Linked DNA regions of Homo sapiens: region 1 is linked to region 2. The links are contacts of gene promoters, found by promoter capture Hi-C in blood cells and fetal thymus (Javierre and others, 2016). All regions are on one chromosome and are shown on one strand. Each heading gives the region's core, a stretch centred on a gene start or on the middle of the fragment in contact. The rest is flanking DNA. Distances are from core to core; before and after follow the strand shown. Region 1 holds the start of LOC124901567 (a long non-coding RNA gene). Region 2 holds the start of CHLSN (cholesin).

Region 1 (4,617 bases), core at 652-3,151, 350 kb after region 2:
TGCACTAAAAGTAAATTCCATGGTACCGAGAGGAGTAAATTCCATGGAACCGAGAGGAGTAAATTCCATGGTACCAAGAGGTAAAGACTGGACTCTCACTCCAGTCCCTGGGGCACTCAGGTCCCTTCTCCAGAGGCCTCACTGTTCAACTGGTTTCTTTTGTCCCCTCCAGAAATTTTTTATGCCTAAGCAAAAGAAGCAGCTCCCTTTTTTTTTTTTCTTCAGACGGAGTCTCACTTTGTCGCCCAGGCTGGAGTGCAGTGGCAAGATCTCGGCTCACCACAACCTCCACCTCCCAGGTTCAAGCAATTCTCCTGCCTCAGCCTCCCGAGTAGCTGGGATTACAGGTATGCGCCACCACACCCAGCTAATTTTTGTAGTTTTAGTAGAGACGGGGTTTCACTATGTTGGCCAGGCTGGTCTCGAACTGCTGACCTCGTGATCTGCCCGCCTCGGCCTCACAAAGTGCTGGGATTTCAGGCGTGAACCACCGCACCCAGCCTGTGCTCCTTGTTTTTTAAAATTAACAATGTGTTTTGGAGATCATCCCATACTGATATAGAAGGCTGTCTTTGGCTACAAAAAGGTGAGTGTTTTTTCTTCAACCAACCAGCTCCCACCCTCCAGTAACCTCAGCTCTTCATTTAGGTCACAGAAAGGGGATTACAAAGGGAAGTAGAAATTGCCTTTGAATCACAGTGTAGGTAAGAACAAATAGATGAGTTGTTTTTATTTATTTTTTTGAGACAGAGTCTCACTCTGTCACCCAGGCTGGAGTGCAGTGGCGTGATCTCAGCTCACTGTAACGTCCGTCTCCTGGGTTCAAGCAATTCTCTCACCTCAGCTTACTGAGTAGCTTTGATACAAGCGCCCACCACCAGCCCCGGCTAATTTTTGTATTTTCAGTATAGATGAGGTTTCACTATCTTGGCCAGGCTGGTCTTGAACTCCTGACCTCAAGTGATCCACCAGCCTTTGGCTTCCCAAAGTGCTGGGATTACAGGCATAAGCAACCGTGCCTGGCCTATGACAAGAGCTTTTTGTTTGTTTGTTTGAGATGGGGTCTCGCACGATTGCCCAGGTTGGAGTGCAGTGGTGCAATCGTAGCTCACTACAGCCTCAACATCCTAGGCCCAGGAGATCCTCCCGCCTCTGCCTCCCGAGTAGCTGGAATTACAGGTATGCACCAACATGCCAGGTTAGTTTTTTTTTTTTTTTTTTCTGGAGAGACAGGGTCTCCTTATGATTCCCAAGCTGGGCTCAAGCGACCCTCCCACCTTGGCCTCCCAAAGTGCTGGGATTACAGGCGTGAGCCACTGTGCCTGGCAACAACAGCTTTTTGAGCTTCAGGAACTGAAGACTTTGTGTCCTTGGGTTAGGCAAAGATTTCCTAGATACAACACCAAAAGCACAATCCATTAAAAAAGAAATTGATAAATTAGACTTCATTCAAAATAAAAAGCTTATCTTCTTCAAACGACATTGTTAAAATAATGAAAAGACAAGCTATGGAATGAGAGAAAATATTTGCAAATCATAGATATATGATAAAGGACTTGTACCTAGAATATATGAAGAATTCTCAATATTCAGGAAGAACACAACCCAGTTTTGTCTAAATGGGCAAGATATTTGTATTAGTCCGTTCTCACATTGCCATAAAGAACTACCTGAGACTGGCTTGTTTATGAAGAAAAGAGGTTTAATTGACTCACAGTTCTCCATGGGTGGGGAGGCCTCAGGAAACTTCCAATCATGGCAGAAGGTGAAGGGGAACCAGGCACATCTTCACATGGCGACGGGAGAGAGAAGGCACACTTTTAAACAACCAGATCTCATAAGAACTCACTATCATGAGAACAGCAAGGGAGAAATCCATCCCCATGATCCAATCACCTCCCACCAGGTCCTTCCCTCAACACTGGGAATTATAGTTCAACATGAGATTTGGGTGGGGACACTCAGCCAAACCATGTCAATATTTAAAAAGACTCTTCACCAAAAAAGATACACAGATGGCAAATAAGCATATGAAAAGATGCTCAGCCTCATTAGACATTAGGGAAATGCAAACTAAAACCATAATGAGATACAACTATGTACCTATTAAAATGGCTAAAATTAAAAACTGATTAGCTAGTGTTGGCAAATATGGGAGGAACTGGAATTCTTGCACAGGGCTGGTGGAAATGGTCCCGCCACTCTGGAAAATAGAATGGTAGTTTCTTAAAAATTTAGTATACATCCACCATGACTGCCATTCTACTAGATGTTTATCCAAGAGAAATGAAAGTACCTATCCATACAAAGACATGTACACAAATGTTGGAAGAAGCTTTATTTGTAATAGCCAAAACCTGGAAAGACCTCAAACACACGTCAAAAGCTGAGTGGGTGAACACACTGTGGCTTATCTATAGAATGGAATATTACGCAGCAGCAAAAAGGAATGAACTATTGATGGACACCCCAACATAGATGGACATCAAAACTGATGAGTGAAAGAGGCAAGACAAAAAAAGTACATGTTGTATTAATGCACTCATTTATGATTTACAAAATTTTTTTTTTAAACAAGGTCTCACTTGTTTAAAAAAAGTGAGTGCAATCTTGGGTAACTGCAGCTTCGATTTCTCAGGCTCGGGTGATTCTTCCATCTCAGACTCCTGAGTAGCTCAGACTGCAGGTGTGCGCCACCATGCCCACTCATTTTTAAAATTTTTTTGTAGAGACGGGGTTTCCCAATGCTGTCCAGGCTGGTCTTGAATTCCTGGCCTCAAGAGATCTGCCCGCCTTGGCCTCCCAAAGTGCTGGGATTACAGGCATGGGCCACCAACACGCCCGGCTCATTTTAAAAATTTTTGGTAGAGATGGGGTCTCCCTCTGTTCCCCAGGCTGGTCTCGAACTCCTGGGCTCAAGTGATCCTCTCCACTCAGCATCCCAAAGTGCTGGATTTTACAGGCATGAACCACCACACCCGGCCTATCAACATTTCAAAGAATTAAGTGGAGAGGGACGTAATGCCTCTTGGGTGTCTGTGAACCCTTGTAGGCTGGGTTTCCGTCTTTCTCTGAACACACGCACCTGTGGACGTGCCAGGTCCCTGGGAGCTCCCTTTACAGATGTGTAGAGACGGAGCGGCAGCGCTGATGTCTCTTCCCATGCTGTGGCCCCAGCATGCAGGGCGAGGGACGGCCCAGGGGTTGGTGCACTTGCGTCCGAGGGGTCGAGGGGCCCCTCACACGTGTGTCCTCTCGGGCAAGCTCCCTGCCATTCATTTCTGGGTCTTGTGACAGAGACAGACGACGGAGCCTCGTGCTGGATGGGAGCTGGATGGGAACTGCTTGGTGCACAGGTGGGGGTCCTCCCAGTCCGCAGCCTCAGAATCACCTGCAGGGCTGACTGCGGCCCACCTGTCTCTGCCTCAGTAGGTCTGGCCTGAGGCCCTGCAATGTGCCTTTCTAACAAGCTTCCAGGTGAGGCTGCTGCCACTGGCTCCATCGCCACCAAGGACCACCGACCCAGGGGCTCTTGAGGGCTCTTCAAGGATGTGGCAGAAGCCACAGAGGTCAAAGGGCACACAAGGAAGAGGTGGAAGACCACCCCTGAGGGCCCCCGAAATCCCTGTGGCCACGAGTTACAGAAGCTGGCGCAGGGAACAGCCATGACGGTGCAACTCTGAAGGGGACCAGAGGGTGGCGAGGGTGTCTAGGGCAGGGGATGTGAGTCCATGGGGCAGGCTCAGCTATACATGCTGACCTCCCAATCCGGACACTCCAGCCATCCCCAAGGCTGAACTCCCCCAACCCTGACACCCCCCAGGGGTGACCTCCCCTAACCCAGACACCCCCCAAGAGTGACCTCCTCCCACCCTGACTCCCCCCAAGAGTGACCTCCCCCAACTCAGACACCCCCCAAGGCTGACCTCCCCCAACCCAGACACCCCCCAAGGCTGACCTCCCCCAACCCAGACACCCCCCAAGGCTGACCTCCCCCAACCCAGACACCACAAGGCTGACCTCCCCCAAACCAGATACCCCCCAAGGCTGACCTCACCCAACCCTGACACCCTCCGAGGTTCACCTCCCTCAACCCAGACACCCCCCAAGGCTGACCTCTCCACCCCGGCGTCCCCCCCAGGCTGACCTCCCACAACCTGGACACCCCAGCCACCCCCAAGGCTGACCTCCCCCAAGGCTGACCTCCCCCACCCAGACAATCCCAAAGGTGACCTTCCCCCACCCAGACAAAACACCCTCCATCAAGGTTGACGTCCCCCAACTCTGAAACCAACCCCCATCCAGATTGACCTCTCTGCACCTGGACACCCCACCTGCCAACCAGGCTGACCTCCCCCTACCCAGACACCCCCAAGGCTGGCCTGCCCTCACCCTGATGCCCCCCAAGGCTGACCTCACCCGACCCTGACACCCCCCAAGGCTGACCTCCCCAACCATGACACCCCTCCCAACGCTGGCCTGCCCTCACCCTGATGATGCCCCCCAAGGCTGACCTCCCCCAACCCTGACACCCCCCCAAGGCTGGCCTGCCCTCACCCTGATGCCCCAGCCCCTCTCAAGGTGAGTCCTATGGGGCCCTCCTTACCAGGGGTGTTC
Region 2 (4,284 bases), core at 549-3,048:
ATTGCAACCTCTGCCTCCCGGGTTCAATAGGTTCTGATGCCTCAGCCTCCTGAGTAGCTGGGATTATAGGTACATGCCACCATGCCTGGCTAATTTTTGTATTTTTAGTAGAGATGGAGTTTTGCCACGTTGGCCAGGCTGGTGTTGAACTCCTGACTTCAAGTGATCCATCCACCTCAGCCTCCCAAAGTGCTGGGATTACAGGTGTGAGCCACCGCACCCGGCCGACTTCTAATGAACAGAATATGGCAAAAGCCTAGGGAAGTCACTTCTGAGATTAGGGTGCAAGGAGACTGTGATGTGCGTCTTGTGTGTGCCTCCTCTTGTGTGTGCTTGCACCGTCTAAGGCAAGCCAGCTGCAGTGTTGTGAGCTTCCTTGTGGTAAGGCCCATGTACCAAGGAACTGAGGGTGGCCTTTGGGCAGCAGCCAGCAAGGCTGAGGCCCTTCTCTAATGACCTTGGAGGACTGAGTCCTTACAATATCCGTGTGTGTGAGCTTGGGAGTGGATCATTCCAGATAAGCTTTCCGATGAAACCACAACCCTGGGGGGACACCTTGACCACAACTTGGTGAACCCTTGAGGCAAAGGCACAGAGCTTAGCCACGCCCACTTTCCTGACCGCGGATACCATGAAAAAATAAATGTTCTTTTAGGCTGCTAAATGTTGGGTTAATTTGTTATGCAGAAAAAGGAACCAAATACAATCTTCTACCAGTAAGGAAGAGTGCACCTTCTTTGCTTGTCACCTTTGGATTCCTGAGGCAACGTACATCATACTTGATACGGCTGCCAAGCACTTAACTTACTGGGTGACTTGAAAGCATGCTTTTTTTTCTTTTTTTTTTTTAGACGGGGTCTGGCTCTGTTGCCCAGGCTGGAGTGCAGTGCCTTGATCATAGCTCACTGCAGCCTCCATCTCCCAGGCTCCAGCGATCCTCCCACCTCAGCGTCCAGAGTATCAGGAACTACAGGCACGTGCCACCATACCCGGCTAATTTTTATTTTTTTAATTTATTTTTTATTTTTTAAAACAGAGTCTCATTCTGTCGCCCAGGCTGGAGTGCAGTGGCACGATCTCGGCTCACTGCAACCTCCACCTCCCGGGCTTAAACGATTTTCCTGCCTCAGCCTCCCGAGTAGCTGGGATTACAGGCACCTGCCACCACGCCTGGCTAATTTTTGTATTTTTAGCAGAGACGGGGTTACGGGGTTTCGTCATGTTGGCCAGGCGGGTCTCGAACTCCTGAGCTCAAGCGATCCGCCCGCCTGGGCCTCCCAAAATGCTGGGATCACAGGCGTGAGTCACCGCTCCCGGACACAAGCATTATTATAACACTACCCACCCTGTGTATTTTTTAGCACCTATCCTGATTTTTTAAATTCAGCACGAAGTTTAAGTCCTAGCCCTGTTGATCCCAATAGCCGTAGCTCATCCATTTCGACTCCGAGCCGAGCTCCATACCCTGGACCCTCGGCGGAGGCCCCACCCCGGGACGCCAGCCCGGCCGGGGCAGCTTGCACCCCAGACCCCCAAGCCCTGCGGGGCCCAAACCTAGTCATCTGCACTTGTTCTGGGCAGGGCGGGTTGCCTTGGCAACCAGCTCCTCTCCAAGCAACTCTAGGCCTCTAGAGATGGCGTCAGTAGCCCGCGCCCGGTCCTGGAACCGCCCCCCGTGCTGCCGCCGCTTGCCATTAGCCGGCGGAGAGACGGACGCAGACCTCGTCCAATGGGAGGCTCCGCACTCCTGAAGGCGGGACTAACGCTTACCTGGGGCGCGGGTCCCTGCCGGAAGGCGGCGTCCGCGACGCAGCTGTTCACGCTTAGGTGGGCGACGTGGGCGCAGGTGGGCGCAGGTAGGCGCGTGGGGCGGCGGCGGGGTGGCCGGCGGGTCAGGGCGCCAGGAGACCCAGAGCCCCGGGGCGGGCTCCCGCGGGGCTCCGCCCCCTCCACGTGGGTGCGCGGAGGCCCGGCGCGGCGCGACCGGGCGGCGGCCCTGGGGTCCGCGGTGCTGGGGAGGCTGGTGCGGCCGGTGCGGCCGGTGCGTCCCGGCGCGGGCTCCGACACCCGCACCCGCCTCTGGGTTAACTCAGCGCGGGCGAGTGGAAGGGACTCAGCTGGCTCCTAGGTTTCAGGCCGTCAGGGCTTGCAGTGGCTCTGGTTTCATTGTCTTTCTCTGAAGACGCCCTGATTGCCCTCCGAGGCTTTCAGCTCCCACTTTCTCTTTTTCAATTTTTGAGGCAGTGTCTCGCTGTGCCACCCAGGCTGGAGTGCAATGGCGTGATCATAGCTCACTGCAGCCTCCACCTCCTGGGCTCAAGCCGTCCTCCCGCCTCATCCTCCCAAGTAGCTGGGACCACATGCGCGCGCCACCACACCCGGATAATTTTTAAAAATGTTTTTTGTAGAAATGGGGTCTCACCATGTTACCCAGGCTGGTCTCGAATTCTTGGGCTCAAGCGATGGATCCTCCTGCCTCGGCCTCCCAAAGTGCTGGGATTACAGGAGTGAGCCAACGCGCTTGGCCTCACTTTCCATCATAAGCATGCTTTCCGTTTCCTTCCTTCCGTCATTCATTCATTCATTTTTAAAAAACGTTCATTGGGTTCCTCCTGCACTGTTCGGGGCATTGGGCTACAGCTGTCAACAAGTGGAGACAAGTCTGTGATCTAGTGAACTTCCATTCTGGAGGGGAGAGACAGATGAACAAGGTGCACAGAGCAGGTGATGGTAAGTGCCATGGAGAAGATGAGAACAGGGGTTTTGAGAATGGAAAGGAAGCAGGAGGAGGAGTGAGGCACCAGAACATTCCAGGTCGAGGAAACAGCAGGTGCAGGGGAAACAGCAGGGAGCCCAGTGTGGCTGCAGCCAATTTGGGAACAGAGAGAGAAAGAGGAGGTGAGTTCCCAGAGATGCGAGGAGGGGCCAGGGCAGTCGTGTGGACCTTACCAAGTGGCAAGGACCTTGACTTTCCCTCCAAGTGGAAGGGGACAGCTTGGGAAGTTTTTTGAGTGGAGGTGACACACCATCTGATTTAGGAGTTTAAAAGCCATCGTGAGAGGTGGTGGCTTGGACTGGGTACCTATGGGATCTTAAGGGAGTCACATTCTGGGTGTATTTCAGTGGTAAACCAACAGGAGTTTGTGGTGGGTTGGACGAGTATGTGAGAAAGAGAGGATTTATGGATGGACCAAGGTTTTAAGCTTGAGCTACTATGTGAACCTCATCAGATGGATGTTTATGGAGAGGATGAACACTAGGAAGCTCAGGTTTGTGGAGGGTGATCAGGGGTATTGATTACGAATTCTTAAGCTTGAGATGATATATGTGTAGATGATATATATAAGTACATATATATGGTTATATATATAGTTATATATATACACAGTTTATACACACATCCGCATATATATATTTATTTTTATATATTTATATATATTTATATATGTTTATATATGTTTATATATGTTTATGTTTATATGTTTATATATGTTTATATATGTTCATATATATGTTTATATATATTTATATATGTTTATATATATTTATATGTTTATATATGTTTATATATTTATATATGTTTATATATGTTTATATATATTTATATATATGTTTATATATATTTATATATATGTTTATATATATTTATATATATGTTTATATATTTATATATATTTATATATATGTTTATATATATTTATATGTTTATATATTTATATATTTATGTTTATATATATTTATATATGTTTATATATATTTATATATATTTTATATATTTATATATGTTTATATATATTTATATATATTTTATATATTTATATATGTTTATATATATTTATATATTTGTGTATATATTTATAATTATGTATATTTATACATATTTATGTATATATATTTATATATTTATGTATATATTTATATATATTTATGTATATATATTTATATACACATTTATATAAATTTATATATACTTATATTTATATATATTTATATATACTTATATATTTATACATATATTTATATATACATATATATTTTATATATATATTTATATATGCTTATATATTTATATATACTTATATATATTTATATATATTTATATATACTTATATATTTATATATACTTATATATATTTTTATATATACTTATATATTTATATATTCATATATATTTTTATATATTTATATAAATACATATTTATGTAAATATATTTATATATTTATTTTATATAAATAAATAAATAAATTGTGTATATATATATATATATATATTTCTTTTTGAGG

Evidence for each region. Contacts are between HindIII fragments. The CHiCAGO score rates a contact against its expected background, and 5 or more counts as called.
Region 1: a fragment that was not itself captured here is called in contact with the fragment with the promoter of CHLSN in region 2 in 2 of 17 cell types (M2 macrophages and naive B cells); the score reaches 8.1 in M2 macrophages.

What each region holds. Positions count from the first base shown.
Region 1 is chr7:786,622-791,238 of GRCh38, reverse strand. LOC124901567 (a long non-coding RNA gene) reads right to left here and starts at 1,786. Exons shown (of 2, transcript XR_007060175.1): 1 at 1,716-1,786. The HindIII fragment of the contact is 873 bases long and covers 1,465-2,337 here.
Region 2 is chr7:1,135,761-1,140,044 of GRCh38, reverse strand. It overlaps CHLSN (cholesin), which reads left to right and starts at 1,798. Exons shown (of 5, transcript NM_001318252.2): 1 at 1,798-2,730. RefSeq lists silencers at 1,389-1,528, 1,729-2,178, 2,189-2,238 and an enhancer at 1,569-1,668. The HindIII fragment of the contact is 2,681 bases long and covers 525-3,205 here.